2 separate regions of the Homo sapiens genome follow, and region 2 is linked to region 1. Evidence: promoter capture Hi-C in 16 types of primary human blood cells and fetal thymus (Javierre and others, 2016). All regions are on one chromosome and are shown on one strand. The core of a region is centred on a gene start or on the middle of the fragment in contact, and the rest is flanking DNA. Distances in the headings are between cores, read along the strand shown.

Region 1 (4,184 bases), core at 1,147-3,646:
GAACCCAGGAGGTGGAGGTTGCAGCGAGCCGAGATCGCGCCATTGAACTCCAGCCTGGGCAACAAGAGTGAAACTCTGTCTCAAAAACAAACAGAAAAACAAATAAAAAATCAAAAAAACCCACAATATGTCTTGGACATCTTTCTGTAATGGTACATAAGCAGACAATGTAAATTTGGACCTTACTTTGGTCAAAGCATGTCTGTCTCCTCCCTGGCCCAGGGTCACTTTATGGAAGCCACCTTCTATTACCTGTTACCTTCCATGACTCATAGTCTGCTGTCTGCTTCTGACTCCTCAGTTGTTGGATTTCCCCATCCACTGCAGTGGGATGGAGACAAGCAGCCCCATCACATAAGTATCGGGGAAGAAAGTGATAAATAGGTTCTCAGTGTATAGGCAGAGGAATTTTAAAGGACTCCATGGTGGGGTGAAAGGTCTGGAAATGTTTACTTGGTGACTGCACTTCAGGGAGCTTCATGGGTGGGTAAGAGGGAGGGAGAGAATATTCACTTAGTGCCAATTGCCTGGCACTATGCCATGTGAATGTGATACTGATTTGACAGTGATGCCAACTCAGGCTTTATTTATTCCTGTGGGCAAGTGAAACCTCAGAGAAGTTAAGTAACTTGCCCAGGGTTGCTCAGAGGTGCCGAGACATGAGCTGAAGTCTGTCTGACTGCGTGGTGTAGGCTCGTTCTATTGTATGATGAAAAGAAGAGGCTGGTGCCACCAAAAAAGCTTAAGGCCATTGCTGGAGAGAGTGGGTGTGGTACGACCACACTGGGGGACTGTGGCGGAGTCAGCTAAAACTGGCCATGTGCTTGCCAGCGTTCCCACCCCTGGGTATACACCCAAGAGAAAGGCGTGCAGGTGCTCACCAAACATATATACCAATGTGTCCACAGTAACATGGACCCTAACAGCTAAAAAACTGGAAGCTGCCCAGATGTCCATCAACAGTAGAATGAATTCCAGTGCACTCACACAATGGAATACTATATAGCAATAAATAAAAGGAATGGATATTTGCAACAACATGGATTAACCTCAAAAATGTTATGTTGGCAGGGTATGATGGCTCATGTACCCCCAGCACTTTGAGAGGCCAAGGCAGGTGGATTGCTTGAGCTCAGGAGTTCAAGACCAGCCTGGGCAACAAGGCGAAACCCCGTCTCCACAAAAAATACAGAAATTAGCTGGGCATGGTGGTGCGTGCCTATAGTCTCAGCTACTGGGGAGGCTGAGGTGGGAGAAATGCTTGAACCCAGAAGGTTGAGTCCGCAGTGAGCTGTGATCATGCCACTGCACTCCAGCCTGAGCAACAGAGCAAGATTCCATCTCAAAACAGCAACAGCAACAACAACAACACAACAAAAACCCTCAAAACATTATGTTGAGTTAAAGAAGCCGGACAAAAGGCTATGTACTATATGATTTCTTTTATGTAACGTTCAAGAACTTGCAAAACTAATCTACTGTGTTGGAAATGAGGGGCTGGGGGTGGCGGCTGGGCAGGAGTGGGATGGGGGCACTTCCTGGGGTAACGGAAGTGTTCCACATCTTGATCTGGGTGGCGGTTGCATGGGCATACACGTTGGTAAAAATGCATCAAGTTATACATGGAAGAAAGTTTCAAGAGTCTGAGAATGCCTCCCTCCATTCTCCCATTCCAAAACATGGTCATATTGGCCCAGCTAATTTCCTCCTTGCAGCAGAGATGACACATCTGAGAGCAGATAAAGGGAGGAGGGGCCCTCTTAGGCCCCACTGGCTGCCTGGTGATAAGCAGTGACCTCAAATTAATATAGGATGTCACTGTTTACCAGCTCCATTGCCTGTATCCCCTTATCCTCTCTGCATCTGCAACCACGAAAGAGGGGTTGGGATTGTTCCACAGCAGAGGAAATGGAGGTTCTCGGAAGGACCTCGGGGAGGCCATGCAAGGCTACTCGGCTTGGAGAGGACATGACCTCGTGGGGAAGGGAGCAACCCGGGGAGGAAGCCGAGGGGGAGCCTTTGGACACACAGGCAGGGACAGGCGCCAGAGGGGGCACCTCCTGCAGTGTGCTGCCTCCACATCAATAATTGCATAATGTGGATACCATTTATGATTGACAGTTCCAAAAACCAAACTCACTCACTACAGATGAGCAAGGAAGAGCAAGAGCCATTCAGAAGTGAGGAGGTATGACGTACAAGGAACACAGGATATGTTTCATGCTGTGATGAAGTTTCACAATAGACTTGGCATAGATTGAAACCCAAAGGGCTCTATCAGAAGTGGCAAATGTGGCACGCTCAGGCCAACACCCATGCCAATGATTCCTATAAAATTCCCATTGCCTGGTAGAAGTTCACAGGAGAGGAAAGTTCTTTCCTGCACCAGGTTCTATGGAGAATTGGTTGCATGGTTTCTCGTGCTGTGGGCATCAGGGACTTCAGGTGAAGGTATTTAGCTGTGGCTTTGTGCAAACCTCAGAACTGTGTCCTCCAAGGGCCTGGGGTATTTGGCAGGCGCTGTCTCTTGCTGCCTTTGCTGCTGTATGACAGGTGAGTAATATGTTATATCCTATTTCTTGGGAGCTGCCTGGAGTGTCTGCCCCTCCTGCAAACAAATGTAGGAGTGAAGCACCTCTAGTTTGAGTCACCTTAACTTACTAGGTCCTGTTGGGGGTGAGCTCAAGGGTAACTCCAAGGTGCAGAGTGAGTTAGGCTGCTGGTTCAGTTCTTGAGAATTGCCTGTCTAATTAGTGGTCTGCCAAACTTAATGGTAGAGTTACAGAAGGCTGTATTCTTTATAATGACTGGCTGGGCTGTTTGTTGAGACTCCTTATTTGTGTAGGACAATCAAGCCATCAACACGCAGGCAGAGTTGTTGCTCTACTAAGGTGGCAGCCAGGACATCTAATCTTGTGTTATGTATTTAATATTAAAAAAGGGGGTCGTTCACTGCCCTGTTTCATACTGTTCAGCTTGAGACTGGTAGGTACAAAAGTCTTCTCACTTCCCATGATTCTAGCGGTGATTGTTTAACACCGATTTTGCCAGAACGTTCAAAGCCTGGATCTCTCTCAGAGAATGCAAAGTGTTAGGCACATTTTATTTCTGCAAACTCTGTGTTTGTGCAATTTCAATGCGTTGGATTGGGTATTCCCTCTCCATTTCACTGTAGTCCCAGCTACTCCCTTTTGTCTTAGATCTGCTACCATCCCACTCCCATACATGGGGCACATGGGGTTACACAGCTGTCTTTCATCCCCAGTTCAAGGTCATGTGGCCACTTTATTATGCCTTGAAGCTCTTTCTTCTCTTCTATGAGCTACTTGGGTGTGCTTTCTGTTACTTGAGCCATTGGTTCCTCCTCTTTTGCTCAAATTAGTTTGGGTTAGGCTTCTGTCACTTCTGATCAGTTCAAACTAATTAAAATTGGTTCCAGGACTGGAGTTTTACATTTGGTCTGTCATTTCACTGGGTCTCTTTCTAATACCCTCAACTCTCTTACCCCCTGTTTTGTTAAAGCCAATTGACACAATTCCAATCAGCATTCAGTCTACAGCTACGGCTGGGCCACCATCAGTTGCTGCTGGAAAAAAACAGAGCCACACCTGCTGGCCGAAGCAAAGCAAATAACAACACTGCCTGCAGAATCTTTCCAGGGACTTAACATATTTAAAGCAGAAATTCTGCTTCTTCCTAAATCTAATCTACCCTTGGTCTTCCACATTTGAGTAAGTGGTACCACCATTTGGCCCAGGGCAAACACCTGGGCCATCATCAACTCCTTTTTCTTTCATATTCCACATCTGATCATCAGATTTGCAATCAGCAAATCTTGTTGGCTCTCCCTACAAAACACATCCTGAGTCTGATGACTTTGAGCCTCCTTCACCGCTCCTCACATCTCTGCTGTGTATGGCTGCAACAGCCTCCTAAGTGGGGTTCCTTTTTCCACGACTGTCCCTTTTAGCCTGTCCTCTACACAGCAGCAGCATGATCCTTTCAAAATATAAATCCAGCCACGCCACTTCCCTGGTTCTTAGTAACAACCATCATGCTAACGATCAAAGGTGATTTCCAACATCCTATGTGATCTGTCTCCCTGGGTCGCACCTCCTCTCCACCCTCTCCTTCCCTTTACCCTGGCTGTCCTCCTTAACTGAAATGCCCCCGTACCCCAGATA
Region 2 (4,184 bases), core at 1,142-3,641, 360 kb after region 1:
GTCCACTTAAAGATATGCAACTGGGTCCATGTTCTCTTCAAATCCAACCAGGTCAGATTGCCAAATCCAGATTCTCATTGCCTTGGAAATCTGTTGTCTGCAGCCATTTCTGGTGCCCAAACCAGAACTGATCCGGGTTTGGGTGCATGCAAGAGATCCACATTAGGTAGTGTCACCAGCAAGGGACTTGAAGCAGGGGATTTGGTGCTCCCAAAATTGTTTGAAAGGTCAAGAGAAAATACTCTAGACTGAGCATCCAGTTGTTTCTGCAGAGCCACTTTATCCTGTTGCAGCAACTGATAGATCAGAAAACTCCTAACACTGTCACTTATTGAATGAGCATCTAACCTGACATGACCAGGAAAGCTATACTACTGCTCTAAAATTATGCCACTTCTACCACAATCCCCACCAGCAAAAGAGACTCCCCACACCCTTCCTTTTCTTTCCATGTCTCTGGGTTGCACAAATTCACCTAATTGGTGGAGCCTAAACATAGCTGGAACTCTAACTCTAAGGTGGTGCAGAAATTATTGTTTCTAGCTTTTCAGCATTTATGTAATGGGAAGGGTTGTAATGGAGGCAAGTGAACCACCATACTATCTTCCATAAGTAAGGACTTTCTTATGCATAGAAGAAAAGGGGACTCCTGATATGTTATTCAGGGGATTCCAGATGGGATCAGGGAATTCCCAAATCTGTCTGCTGCTTGTCACACTGCCTGTCAGCCCATAATGGAGCACTATTATTGATGCTTTCCATAAGCCCCTTATTAACATGTAAACATTCCTATAAGATTGAACAGATAAAGGTCTAATCCATTATTAACACCTACACAAATGTCAGTTACCAGTTGATTGAGAGAGAGGTATGTGGTGGGGAGTGGGGAAGAACCCTAGAAGATGGTAGGATGTCTAAGTAGGAGGCAAAAGACTATCAAAGGCAAATTGCTCACCTACACAAATGAGCTCCTGGACATTTCTGACTTCTTTTCGAACAGAAAGGCCAGTTGTGCTGTGACAAGGATGTACATAACAGAGAGGCAAGATAGCAAGCACAACGAAAGTTTCTCCTGTCTCCCAGCAAGCCCTGGCTCTCCAGCTCTCTCCCAGCAAACAAATGCAAGGCAGAATTCAGAATACAAATGTCTTCTGATGTATCCTTCTCCAAGGGCAGGAGGACTGTAGAGATTCACATATCGATTGGGAGCATAATAATGCAATAAAAAATTCAAAGACAAGCCAATTTCTCAGTGTTTGCAAGGACTGGCAAGTCCAGCAAGGTTATTGATGAAGAAATTAAGCAGAATGCAACGCAGCCTGCTCCAGCCTCAACTCTCTCATAAAAAAATCTACACCAGAAGCATTTCTCACATGACGTCAGCATGCTCCAGTAAAGGTGTACACTCCTGGTGGTTTTTGCTAGACGGATACTGATTGCATTCCAAGGGATGCTGTGGTGACAAGGAACACGAAGTCTAGGTTCTGGTCTAAAATCTGACACTACATTGCTGTGTTACCTAAAACAAGTCACTTGACAACTCTGGGTTTCCGTTTCTTCATTGGTAAGGCAGAAATAATAATATTAATCTTGCTTGCCTCCTAAAGAAAATGGCCTTAACTCGAGGTCCAAGGATAAGTTTCAGGCATTGTTGGAGCCCCCTGAAATTATAGACAAACTTTTACATTTAGATGGATATACTGAAGATAATTTCCCACATAATTCTAAACTGGATAATCATATGCAGGAGGAAAAGGGGTCCATGGCTCTTTTAAAAAAGTTAACAACTAATGGCCAAGAGAATCAATGGAAATAAGTTAATCGGTGAGAACTGCTCCACAAACTCTTGAAGAAAATAAGAATATTTCATTCAAGTTTACAAATAATAGCCAAGACCCACTTGCCTTATTAGTACAGTATGTACCATCTCCCTTCTGGGTTTTTCTGTCCTATTTGTGTCCCAAATTTGCAGTTTTTACTTGCTAAGATTTTTCAGTTCATATATACAACCACCTCTCAGATCACCAAATGATTTTAAGAATCCAGACTGGGTTATCCCACTTTATGGGCCCCTCACAGTTCCAAGGATCCACACCACTGGTCAGGCAAGTTTCCTTTTAGACCTTAAAGTCCATTTTCACTCCCTTTTCTTGGTTATTCTAACTAATCACCTGCAACTCTAAGGGAGGCTACTCTTATGACACTAGAGAACTCTAAACTGGTCTTTGGAGGAAGCTTACGCTTGATGTAATTTCTCTTTGCTGTTAGATCTGACATAATTACATAATTGAAGCTGCCTCTCCCTTCTAAACCAGACCAATTATGATTTCTTTATTTGCAATAAGATGCAATTTAGGGCATCAAGAAAGGGAATTATCCAAGAATCTCATCTTCCCTTTACCCTCAGTTAGACGCAGAGTTCATGCAGTCTCTGGATGCTGCTCATGATTCTTTCGGCCCTGTCTAGGCGTGGATGGATTCACTCGGTCACCGAGGTCGCCTTTCTACTCTGGTGATTATAAACAGGAAATGATAGCAGAATTACTCATAAGCTTTAGCCAAAGCTTTGTTGGGCTTAGGCTGCTGTTCCAGCAAATTCAATGTATGTCTTGACCCTTTGGTAAGACTATTTCTGGGATAAAACTTTTTGGCTCATGGCAAAATTTGCTCAACATTTACTCCTTGACCAAGTCAATGTACGCCTCTATCCAGGATAATTGCCATTAAAATAGACATTTCATTTATTTGGAACACAGAGACAAGTCTCTACCTAAATGAATTTTGGATATATACCTCTCAACAAGAGACCTAGAAAGGTTCTTAAGCAAAGACTATATTATTAAGTATATTGAAATTTATACAGCAGTGTAAACATACTGATATCAGTGAGCTTGGTTAGCTTCTAAAGAGCCAAAGCCACAATTAGCCAATAACAGCAGAGAAAATAAATATATGTCAACTTCCAGGAAGTTTAGTACTCATGTGAAGATTCTTTCTATGACCCCTCTTTTAATCCCCTTTCTGGTTTGTAGCCTGCTTTAGTGATTTTAAGGTGAGTTCATGTCACACCTCTTATCAGTTATTTTACGTATATATACAACACACACATACTATATATACATGTAAAATAGATAAAAACTTTATGTGTGTGTATGTTTGTGTGTGATCCTTGGAAATAAACTTTTTATCTTTTTAGGTACCCATAGAATATTTATAAAATAACTCTATATTAGAACAGTTGATTCAAATAAGACACAATTAGAGCTGTAATCAAATACCATTCTCTGATACTAATGCAATACATCTAGAAATGTACAATAAAATAAAAAATTTAATTTTTTTCATTTAAATAATTCTGAACTAAAAAAGAAAATTTCAGAACTGACAATTGTGTAGAATATGAAGATATATGATAACATATGAGACATAGCTAAAGCAGTGTTCAGAGGAAACTTTTAGCCTTCAATATATTAATAATTGAGATCAAATGAAAATAAATAAAGGTCCCAGTCACAAGTATTGAAAAATATCAAAATAAACCTAAACATTACATATTGAAAGAAAAATTTAATATAAAACAGAAACATAAATTTAAAATAGAAAAACAAAAAATAATAAAATTAATAAATTACTTTATTAACTAATTGTTTGAAAAAATGCGAAATTAAATAAACTGTCAGCTATCTTAGTCCAAAAAAGTGGGGGTAGGCACAAATATGGAAACAAATCACAGTATGAAACGGTCACTGTAAAGAGGCAGCCCAATGCACTATATTTCCAAGCAGTACCATCTTTGTATCTAGGGGTAACCACATGACTAATTCTAGCCAATGGCACATGAGCAGAAGCGATATGTGTGTGTAAAAGGATTTGCACCAGCAATTCACAAAAAAGAAGTGCAAATGGTTTTAAAACAATTGAAACAACGCCTAATCTCACTTAATATAAATGTTAATTTAAACTACTACAACAAAATGTACTACTTTTCACCACCCACATTGTCAGATATCAAAACATTTGACAATTGTAAGAATAATTACTAGTAATTATAGAACATGTACTATGTGCCCGGCACTGATGCAAATACTTAACACATCTTTAGTGCTCACAGTAACTCCATGAGGTGAATCTCATTATTACCCCCTTTTACAGATGAAGGAACTAAAGTACAGATAATTTAGTAA

The links. Contacts are between HindIII fragments. The CHiCAGO score rates a contact against its expected background, and 5 or more counts as called.
Region 2: a contact is called between a fragment that was not itself captured here and the fragment with the promoter of LINC01433 in region 1, in 1 of 17 cell types (M0 macrophages). The highest score is 5.5, in M0 macrophages.

Annotation. Positions count from the first base shown.
Region 1 is chr20:4,190,694-4,194,877 of GRCh38, forward strand. LINC01433 (long intergenic non-protein coding RNA 1433) reads left to right here and starts at 2,397. Exons shown (of 3, transcript NR_033917.1): 1 at 2,397-2,553. The HindIII fragment of the contact is 5,002 bases long and covers 740-4,184 here.
Region 2 is chr20:4,553,164-4,557,347 of GRCh38, forward strand. No RefSeq gene overlaps it. Among named protein-coding and RNA genes, the nearest start is that of PRNP, 130 kb to the right of the region's middle. The HindIII fragment of the contact is 317 bases long and covers 2,234-2,550 here.